Linked DNA regions of Homo sapiens: all the other regions are linked to region 1. The links are contacts of gene promoters, found by promoter capture Hi-C in human tissues and cell types (Jung and others, 2019). All regions are on one chromosome and are shown on one strand. Each heading gives the region's core, a stretch centred on a gene start or on the middle of the fragment in contact. The rest is flanking DNA. Distances are from core to core; before and after follow the strand shown. Region 1 holds the start of NPAP1 (nuclear pore associated protein 1). Region 2 overlaps SNHG14 (small nucleolar RNA host gene 14). Region 3 overlaps LOC105370733 (a long non-coding RNA gene).

What was found. The method cuts DNA at HindIII sites, captures the fragments that hold promoters and counts their contacts. A contact is called where the count stands out against the background at its distance.
Region 2: a fragment that was not itself captured here is called in contact with the fragment with the promoter of NPAP1 in region 1 in 1 of the 25 tissues and cell types used here (aorta).
Region 3: a contact is called between a fragment that was not itself captured here and the fragment with the promoter of NPAP1 in region 1, in 2 of the 25 tissues and cell types used here (dorsolateral prefrontal cortex and mesendoderm cells).

The regions. Positions count from the first base shown.
Region 1 is chr15:24,673,685-24,677,382 of GRCh38, forward strand. It overlaps NPAP1 (nuclear pore associated protein 1), which reads left to right and starts at 2,091. Exons shown (of 1, transcript NM_018958.3): 1 at 2,091-3,698. The coding sequence starts at 2,184. The HindIII fragment of the contact is 8,790 bases long and covers 1-3,698 here.
Region 2 is chr15:25,124,471-25,128,168 of GRCh38, forward strand. The region is part of intron 61 of SNHG14 (small nucleolar RNA host gene 14); the gene reads left to right. Among named protein-coding and RNA genes, the nearest start is that of PWAR1, 9.3 kb to the right of the region's middle. The HindIII fragment of the contact is 3,468 bases long and covers 263-3,698 here.
Region 3 is chr15:24,346,113-24,349,810 of GRCh38, forward strand. The region is part of intron 2 of LOC105370733 (a long non-coding RNA gene); the gene reads left to right. Among named protein-coding and RNA genes, the nearest start is that of PWRN3, 93 kb to the right of the region's middle. The HindIII fragment of the contact is 7,486 bases long and covers 1-3,698 here.

The DNA.
Region 1 (3,698 bases), core at 841-3,340:
TTTTATTAAACTCTCCTCAAATGATATCAAGAGATTACAGTTAAATGCCATAATTGTAAACAATTTCTCGGTTCCCTGAGAGGTTAGGAAGGACTTATAATATGTCTCCTCTTTTTAAACAGAATTTGGGTCTGAGCAAAACTTTGTGTCCTAGAAACATAAGCTTTGTTGGGTATGGAAGCCCACATTTACTCTGACATAGTATAAAATATATGAACAGGGGGATAAAAAGGATTTTGTAGTATGTTAACTAGGTTTGATGTTATTTTAAATCGATTTTTAAACTAAAAAATACATTAAAATATTTTTACTGATCTCTGATTCTTGGTTCTGAACCTTCCACATGTCCTATGTCTGGCACACAACATTAGCCCAAAGAGAGCAAAGCAGTCCAGTTAAATAAACCAAAGAAACAAGATTAAAACTAGATAAGGTCATGTGTAGGATTTTCCAAATCTTTCTTGTCATGCTGAAACTTCCAGCTCTTAAAACAGTAACACATATTTCCTTTGTCCTAAAAACCAATATTAAGTCTCCTTCCTTGGGCATAAGAATATGGATAGTTATACTTAGGTGACAGTAATGTGTGGTAAAGAGTGGGCCTTGCTGGCATGCGGACAATGACCAAATTGTATTGATCATATTTTAATCGAATACATTGCTCCACTACTGACTTGCAAATACATGATGAATTTGCTTTCTAACATATTCCAAGAAGGCCAGAGAACTGGCTTATCCATTTGGATTAATCCACTGGTGAATTTCTTTCGGGATAGGCCAAAATGGATCTGGACTATAATCTTTACATATTTAGATCCTTCAAACTAGACCAAAAAGGAAATCTGGGCTGCAAGGCTCAATTAGAAGAACAGTGTGGGATGCTGCTTTGCTGACTATTGGGGGTCGCTGCCCCATGTCTTCAGAGGAGACTGGAGCCCAGTGCCTGCCATGACCAACTTATGAGGTGAAGTAAGGGCTTCCCCCTAGGAACGCATGTGCTTAATACAGATGTGCTGTGTGCTAGGTACCCTAAGGACTACAGGAAATAATGAGAATACATGATGTGTCCATAACAAGGAGGCACACAGGCCACGGCACCAGCTCTGGAATCACACAGCCCAGGTTCGAAGCCTGGCTAGGCCACTGTCATATCAATGACCCAAGGAGCAAGCAGCCTAAGGCTTAAATGTTGTTGCTGTTGTTTGTTGTGGTTTTTTGTTTTTGTTTTTGTTTGAGACAAGAGTTTTGCTCTGTTCCCCCAGGCTGGAGTGCAGTGAGGTGATCTCAGCTCACTGCAACCTCCACCTCCCGCTTTCAAGCGATTCTCCTGCCTCAGCCTCCCTAGTAGCTGGGATTACAAGTGCGTGCCACCACGCTCAGTTAATTTTTGTATTTTTAGTAGAGATGGGGTTTCACCATGGTGGTCAGGCTGGTCTCGAACTCCTGACCTCAGGTGATCCACCCGCCTTGGCCTCCCAAAGTGCTGGGATTAAAGGCGTGAGCCACCGCGCCCAGCCTTAAATGTTGTTTAAAACAAATTTGTGAAAAGAAGTGAAGAGGCCCTGCCTGCCAGGAAGAGATGTGGTAGGGCGTAGCATCTAGTCAGGACAAGGCACCACGTCCCCTCCTCGGAAACCCTCACGGCCTGGCTGGTGACCCTGGCGCCACAGAGACGGCACACCTGGCTCCAGGCAGCACAGAGCACTGCCAAGGTCCTAGAGGAGGCTGGCAGGATATAGGTTGTCCTGTGCTTAACTTGAAGCAGATGTGCCCTCTGTGAACCGGGGAATGGGGACGGCCGACACAGGGCCACTGCGTGCAACAGCGCCGGGCCAGGGCTAAGGAACAGGCAGAGCCGGCGCCCAGGTGACAAGAGCTCTGGCGATGGGCCCGCAGGCCCCAGCAGTTCCCTCATAGAGGCCACGCGGTGCAACACCTGCCACCGGCAGCGGGGCTTCCGGGGGTCCTGGGGCAGCTGGGGCCGACGGGGCGTCGCCCTTTGCCCTCTGACCCCTGCCTTTTGCGCCCCCGCTGGCGCTCCCTGGTTCTGTGAGGAACCTCGCGGCGGCGTCGCAGGCGTAGAGCCAGTCAGTTTGTGCTTGGTCGCCAGAGGAGGCGGTGGCTGAGGAGAGTTGAGTCCACTGCTGACCCTGTTTTACGGTAGGAGGCACGGCTAGCTCTAAATGGGCAATTTACTTAGTAAATTTAGACCCGGGTGCCGCCGCCGGCCCCTGCCAGGGCCAGGGCGTGGCGCCCCCGCTCCCCTGTCCCGGGACGCCTCCCCGCCCGGTCGGGCTCACTCTGTACCCACCCCGCGCCCTTTCCGCGGCCTGTTCCGCCGGAACGCCCGTCGCAGGCCTTCAGCAGCCAGCATCTTCGTCGCCCCTAAGAGGCCGTGTCCTCTCCCTCGGGCTGCGGCCGCCCCTCTGGGGGTCCTGCCGGCTGTGGGTTGGGGGCTGGCCATCAGGAAGACACCCATGCTGCCTGCTCGGAACCCCCCGAGGTTTGGACACCCCAGTTCCGTAAGGATCCCTCCTCCCAGCCGCATGTTCACTCTCCTGCTGCCTTCACCACGTGAGCCGGCGGTCAAGGCCAGGAAGCCCATCCCAGCCACTCTCCTGGAGGAGACCGAGGTGTGGGCCCAAGAAGGGCCCAGAAGAGTGAAGAAGGATGAGGATCCGGTGCAGATCGAAGGGGAGGATGACGAGAAAAGGACCCCCCTTAGCAGCGGAGAAGCATCGTCCACATCCAGGTCCCAGGGCACCCAGGGAGACGTGGCCTCCTTCAGATGCAGCCCTGGGCCTCTGGAGGGAAATGTCTACCACAAGTTCTCAGAAAACAGCATGAGTGAGAAGGCCCAGGCGTCTCCAGCGAGCTCCTGCTTGGAAGGCCCTGCCATGCCCAGCACACACAGCCAGGCCGGATGTGCCCGGCATCTTGGAAAGCCTGATCCGGATGCAACAGCGCCCCCTGAGCCAGCCGTTGGCTGCTCCCTGCTGCAGCAGAAGTTGGCTGCGGAAGTGCTGAATGAAGAGCCACCGCCCAGCTCCCTAGGCTTGCCGATTCCGCTGATGTCCGGAAAGAGGATGCCTGATGAGAAGCCTTTCTGTATTCCTCCAAGGAGCGCTGCTCCTCCCAGAGCTGCCCGCAACAGGCCCTGCAAAAGGAAAATGTCGATTCCATTGCTGCTGCCGCTGCCCCCTTCACTGCCATTGCTGTGGGATCGAGGTGAGCTTCCCCCACCTGCTAAGCTCCCCTGCCTGTCTGTTGAGGGAGACCTACACACCTTGGAGAAGAGCCCTGAGTATAAAAGGAATAGCAGAATCTTGGAGGATAAAACAGAGACCATGACAAACAGCAGCATCACCCAGCCTGCCCCTTCTTTCTCCCAACCTGTGCAGACCACAGACTCCCTGCCCCTGACCACTTACACTTCCCAGGTCTCAGCTCCTTTGCCCATCCCTGACTTGGCTGACCTGGCTACTGGACCCCTCATCCTGCCTATCCCTCCACTTTCCACCACACCAAAAATGGATGAGAAAATAGCATTCACAATCCCTAACTCTCCTCTGGCTCTTCCTGCTGACCTTGTTCCCATTTTGGGTGATCAGTCTAATGAGAAAGGAGGCTCTTATAATTCAGTCGTAGGAGCAGCGCCTCTCACTTCTGACCCCCCAACACCTCCTAGCTCCACACCC
Region 2 (3,698 bases), core at 747-3,246, 450 kb after region 1:
CTTATTTTATGGATTGTTATATATTGCAATCATTGTTTGTGTTTGATTTTCAATTTTTTTTCTGGATTTGATCATTGGGAGCTCCTTAAAGTTGGCCCCTGTGTTCTTTTAATACAACCTCATAATTTTTTGACCACTTCTTATTTTCGGGTATCACAAGATATTCTAGGTTTATCTTGTATTTTCCTTCCCCACGCCTGTAATCAACCATTTCCTCAAGGGGTTCTAGTTCTTCATATTGGAAAATAGTATTTAGAAACCAAGATCTTGGTATTAAGTGTATTAATTGCTAATGGGGTTTTATTGCTTCTAGGCCTAGAGCTGGGAGCTGTGTGTCCGTTTACACACATACACATACACACACACCCCTATATTGTCTCTATTCATTTATCTATCTTAAATATATATACTAATAGTATGTAGAATACTATAGATAGTATATATCTATCTTTATTAAAAATCACAAGTTCATACTGTTGTGGATCATAATCCATCATCATATGGTTCATTTTATTCTTCCCTCTTGGCTTATTTGTGATTTGCTTCTTCAACAGTGAGAAACCTACCTTTCATTATCTACAATATGTTTTGTTATTTCTTCAGTGCAGTATACACTTAAATAATTTCAGAATTGCTAAATTATACCCCTTTAAAAATGAAATCACTAACTACAGCACAGTATTTAAATATAGTTCTTTTGTCTTTATCCTTAACAGCGTTCAGTCAACATACTATTATTTCTAAACGTATTTAGGTTAGTTATCTTTTTTTTCCTATCCCCTGCCATATGGTTACATTAATCATATAATCAAGCAGGTTTTTTTATTGTTTATATTCCATTTTGAGTTCCCTCACCTTTTGGATTATTTTAACTATATTTTGTATATGTGAAATATTACTATGTTTCTAAAAATTAGGACTGTGAGAAATACCACTCTCCCATCATCCCTGCTACACTGATTCTATTCCTCCCTTCTTTCCACCCTAATCTCACCCAACCCTTAGAGTTAACTAGTCTAATAGTTTCTGGTTTATTTTTTTCTCTTGTTATTCTTGTTCACAAGTGGGCAGATACATGTATATTTTATCATATATCACATGTATATTTTATATCCCCTTCCTTCTTACATGATTAGTGGCATACTATAGATTTTTTTTTGTTGCAGTTTTCTTTTTCCGCTTAATATGTCCTGGAAATCACTTCATGTGTATTCAAAGAGATATTCCTCATTCTGTCATGCTTAGTGCTTAACTCCATGGATGCACCACAATTTATTCAACCCCTCTGCTCTATGAGAATTGTTTGCAATATGTGTAAAGTATCACACTACAAATAGTTTTACATTGGATTGTTTATTTGCTCTTCGTTTGGAAGTGTTCTTTGTATTACTGGGACATACATTTCTTGTTCAATATATGTGTTGCAAAGGTTTCTTTCATTAAGTATCTTAGCCTGCCTGCCTTCCTTTCCATTTCCTTTCTTTTTCTTTTCTTTCTTCTCCTTTTAATGCTGTTATGCTCTAAATTTTAAAATGGCCCGAATTTGCCAGTGGCTCATCCCTTATTGCTATTTATTCTTCCTCTCCTTTTCTCCCCCATCTCTTTTCCTTTAATTTACGTGAAATTAACATAACGTAGCCATTTAGTGCATTCAAAATGTTTTGCAACTGCCATCCTTAACTAGTTCCAAAACATTTTCAGCACCCCAAAGACAACCCATACCCATTAAGCAGTCAGTCCCAACTCTCTTTCCCCATCTTTTCATTTTTGTTTTTTGGAGTTTTTTTGAGACAAAGTCTCACTTTGCACCCAGGCTGGAGTGCAATGGCACAATCATAGCTCACTGCAGCCTCAAATTCCTGGGCTTATGCAATACTTCCACCTTAGCCTCCCGAGCAGCTAGGACTACAGGCATATGTCACCACACCAGGCTAATTTATAAAAAAAATTTTTTAGACACAGAGTCTTGCAGTGTTGCCCAGGCTTCTTGTGTCTTTCGATAAACAGACATTGAAAATTTTTAAGTCCAGTATATCAGTTTGAGTCTCTTATTTTTAGTGCTTATTACTTACTATTAAATCTTTGCTTACTCCAGGTTTGCAAATAATAGTTTTCTAAGTTTTCTTCTAGAAGCTTTGGGACATAAGTATAACATCTATCTCAAATCATTTTCAAATGTAGTTGAAGTTACTTGTTTTCATCAATCTCCAGTTGTTGCAGAACCATTTGATCAAAAGATTTTTCTTTTTCTACTGAATTATCTAATGCCATTGTTGAAAATAAGTTGGCCATTTACGTATGGATCTTTTTTGAACTCTCTGTTTTTCCTTCTTTATGCCATTCTTTTTCACTGAAGTTTAATAGTAAATCTTGAGATTAAGTAGTGTGAGTCCAAAATTTTGTTATTTCAAGGCTTTATAGAGGAAGGAGATGGCTACACTGGGTCCTTTGTATGTTCACTTAAATTTTAAAATTATCTTGTCAATTTCCTAAAAAGCCCAACCGAGAAATTGATTTTGATTACATCAAAACTATAGATAAATTTAGGGGGGATTGACATCTTAACAATGTTGAGTCTGTAGTTCTCCATTTATTAGGTCGTCTATAATTTCTCATAGATGTCTTTTATGGTGTTTAGTATAGAAGCATACCTTGTAGTTTTCAATATAGAAACATTATTAAAATTTAACATTTAATAAACTAGATTAAATTGTTAAATTTATTTGTTTTGTTGTTTTGATGCTATTGTAAATGAATATGTTTAAATTTCGTTTTCCAGATTTGTTACTATTATATGAAAACAGTAATATTTTCACATTGCAACTGCTTTTCAGTTGGGTTGTCTTCTTTTCAGTCTTAGGAGAAAATATGTAATTTCTTACCATTAAGAAAGATACTAGCTGTTATTTTTTTGTAGATGCCCATTACCAAATTGAGCAAGTTTTATTCTAGTGCCAGTTTGCTGTTAATTTTTATAATAATAATGTGATAAATTTGCTGAATGTTTTTCTACATTTATTAATATAATCATGTTTTCCCCCTTATTCTCTTATTATGGGAGACTGCATTGGTCAGCTTTTGAATGTTAGCCCAACATTGCATTCTTGATGTAATCCAATTGGTCACTGTTATCCTTCTTGTATATATATTACTGTATTCAATTTTTCTGCTAGTTATTTAAGAGTTATTCACCTATGTCCGTGATGGCCATTATCCTGTGGTTTCCTTTTTAAAAATTATTTTTGTCAGATGTTGGCATTAGGCTTCATAAAATGTATTTAGTATAGTGCTCTATTTGCTAGTACACTTGACCCTTGAACAACAGACATGGAGATTAGGGGTTCAGACTCCCCCATAGTTGACAATCTGTGGACAATTGTTTGCTCTCCAGAAACTTAACTACGAATAGCCTACTGTTGACTGAAAGCCTTACAGATAACATAACTAGTCAATTAACACATATTTTATGTTATATGTATTACATACTATTTTATTAACAATAAAGTGAATGAGAGATAAAATGTTATTACGAGACATAAGGAAGAGAAAATATATTTACTATTCGTTACGTGAAAGTAGATGATCATAAAGGTCTTCATTCTCATTTTTATGTTGAATAGGCTGAGGAGGAGGAAGAAGAGGAGGGGTTGTTCTTACTGTATCGGGGTGGCAGAAGCAGTACACTTGGTGTAACTGTA
Region 3 (3,698 bases), core at 595-3,094, 330 kb before region 1:
TTGTATCATATGTTGAACCAAACTTGCATTCCTGAGGTAAATACCTTTTGCCATAGTTTATAATACTTTCTACATGTTGCTGATTTCATTTGATAATGTCTCCCTGGTGATTTTTGTCTCTGTATTTATAAGGCATATTGGTCTTCATTCTCCTTATTTGAAATATATTTGTGTAGTTGTTCAATCAGGGTAAACGAATTCATAGTATACAATGGGAAGTAATCTATTTTCTACTTCTTTATTATTATTGTATTGTTTTGAAATATTTTTGATAAATTAGTATTAATTTTCTGTGATTTTAATAACACATCAGTGAGTTCCTGATGAGGGAAGGGAAGTGAATCCTAAGAACAATCATGTGAGTTTGGAAGGAGACCCTTCCCCAGCTGAGCCTCAGCCTGAGCCATCACCTACATCTAGACCGAAGACCCAGAGAAACCGTGAGTAATATGTGTGTGGTTCTGAGCCACTAAGGTACGTACTAATTTGTTATGCACCAAGTAGTAAGTAATATACTTGACAGTAATTGTAAGGTGGTATTCTGGATTAGGTCCTGGAATAGATAAGTATATGATTATTAAAAAACCTGGTAAAATATGAAGGAAGTTTGTAGATCAGTTAATAATCTCGAAAAACAGTTAAATTCTTAGTTTTCATGAATATGCTATGGTTATAATATATATTAACATTCTAGTTAGCTGAATGGTATATGAAACTGTCTGTACTTACCTATGTGCATTTATGTAAATCTGCAGTTATTTCAAAATAAATATGTTTTTTAATATTATTATTATTTTTTTAAGAAAAGTAAGCAAGTAAAGACATCAGCAAAAAACTTTTGCCTCCAGATACAAGTGGGCATGTAGGGAGAGAATAGTAAACTGGCTTTTCTTTTCTAGGCAACATTCGAAACCCAGGTGCCACTCCTTCAGGAAGGTACCATCAAGCTCCAAGGACTCTTATCCTCTTTCTCCTTCCCCACTACCTAGTCATTAGAGCGTCAGCATCCACTTCTTGAAAGGAAGATGCCTGTTTTTCACATATCCCAGAAAACCCCATTTTAGGACAGCATTTAGCAGAGTATATTCAGGATCCCACTAACCTTTTTGGAAGACATGACTTCCAGATGATATAAGGCAAGAATAAGAAATTTCAGTGACAGGGAACAGAAATCATATTTCTGCATTCAGGATCATGTTTTCTTGGTACGGGGATTTCTTCTTCAAGTAACCCAAGGTCAACTTTACCTTCAAACCTTTCAGAAAACCTGTTCTAATTTACTTTGCTTCTTTCTACAGGCTCCATCAGGAACTGTGCAGGACTGTGCACTCTGTTGATACTCACATGGTGGAATTATATTGCCTTTGGCCAACCCTAAAGCCATCAAGATAGCAGGTAAGCAGAGTACAAAAAATATTTCTCATAAGTTGGTGCAGGGCAGTCCCTGCTTCCAGAGGCCTGGGAATAAAACTTTACAACAGAGTTTTTGCAGGTGAATGATACTGAGTGATATATACATGTTGTGCACAAGAAGAGAAATCTCAGTAGACAAAAAAACAAACAAACAAAAAAACCAGTATACAGCATATCTCCAACCCTCCATGCAGTGATCTGAGAGACAGAAACAGGGTGACTGATGACTCTGCATGTGTACTCGCTGCCCACTAATTCTCCACACAGCTTCCTATTAAGAGGCCATTGCACTCTTCTTAGTAGCAGCAGAGTTGTTTTCAGGAACCATGCCTAAAAGGCCTACAAAGCCATGGAGGTACATATTAAACTCCCATTGACATCCATAAATCTTGAATAGCAGGATGTCACAGGCACAGATGACAAAGTGCTGAGCACTGAGTCCCCAGACAAACTTTCACTGCATGGAAGATATGATTTCGCACAGTATCCTAAATCAACAGTTGTATAGAGGCTGGTCTGGACACCACAAGTCTACAGAAGATGCTATTGCAAACAAACCACATTTTTAGACGACATCATGAGGCAAACCCAGTGCTCTGTCTCCACACTCTAACCTGATAAGAAGATTGAGTTCAAGGAAGGAATGTCTCATATATGTAATGGCATGGCTTTGTGTTTACTTAATTCAACCTTCCCGGAGTCTAAAACTCTAGGTGAAATTTCAGTCAGCCCCCTTAACTCTGACTGTATGAGTTTTTTCATCACTCAGTGTACTCATGAGGGGACATCGAAACCGATTCCAATATCCAATTACCCAAAGTAGAGTTGACCAGAGAAGCAAGGGGGCAGATCAGAATATCTTATAAAGACCATTATGCATTCACTTCTGCAGTGACTAATCATAAGGTGATTTCTACGATCACCAGCCATGTGATTAAAAGGACAAATGTGAATGAAGAAAAAGATATACAAATGTTACAGCTGAAAGAATGGAATCTGTAATGAAGTTTACAGGAAGCGTTGCTCATATTTCTAAGATTACAGTTTAAAGTTTCAAAATACAGGATTTTCCCACGTCTTTAGAGAGCTAGCACTCCAGTAAATTTTTCAAGTAACTCTTTACAATTTTCATCTTTGTCTTCAATGGATTTCTTAAACCATGGTTCATAGAACTATATTTCCATATGTGACATAAGAATTCTAGCACTCCACTAATAACTCTAATGTGTCTAAAATTATAAATGCAGTTTATAACACCTCTCTGGACACTCACTTTAATGAGAAGTGGACAAACTGGACTTCCCTAATGGAGGGCAGTGGTGAAGCTTCCAGGTAGAATATAAATGCAGTTTATAAATTTATATGGTAAGATTTAAGCATATTTCCTCAATAACAAACAAGAATATAGCCAATGAGCCACCATAATTTAACAGTGAGAAACAAGCAGTCACAGAGAAAACAGTGTATTCCATTCATCGTAGAGTGCACATTTTCACATCTATCAAATACAGATGCATCTTAAATTTGAAAGCGTTAAAACACTGTTGACGGGAAGGCAGTCATAATGTGATTGTCCTCATTTACCTGTATATGAGCTTTGTCTGCAAACCTCCTGTTGATGTTTTTGGGTGATGTCATCAACATCAGCATCAAATCTTGCACAGGAGGTTTCAGAAGGTTGAAAATAGAGACTCGCAGGAGCAAGGTAGGAATCTCACAGGAAATGCAGCATCACCAAATCCTCAGATTAGCACAAATGATGATAACATGGGGAACACCATGAGCAAGATGAATTGAAGAGTGATTTAGGAGAGTTGGATCTGAATGGGAGGAAATTTAGGAAAACCTTTGTTGGTGTATTTTCCTTATATGTTCCATCCCATGTAATCATAGGAGTGACAAAAGACAAGACAAATATCCACAGATATATGTCTTGAAAACAGCTTTTTTTCCAATAATTATAATATAATGATGTTATTATTATACAGTGTATTTCCACATGATAAAAGTATTAGTTTCATTGTTAGTGATTTTGTTCTTTCATTCTGATATAGGAAATAATGACACATTACAACTGATGCAATTGATACATCTCACAATTTATTAGAATATTTGTTTTTTGGGGTTAGTGTAGGCTTAGTAAGATACTACGTGGTTTATATGTTATCATTTCATACAATCCACCTGCCATCTCAGGAAGTAAGCACTATTCCCGCTCCTCTGGTCCATTTCCAAGTCTGAGCTAACTCTCGAAAGGAGAGGCCTAAAGGAACCTTGAGTTTGAT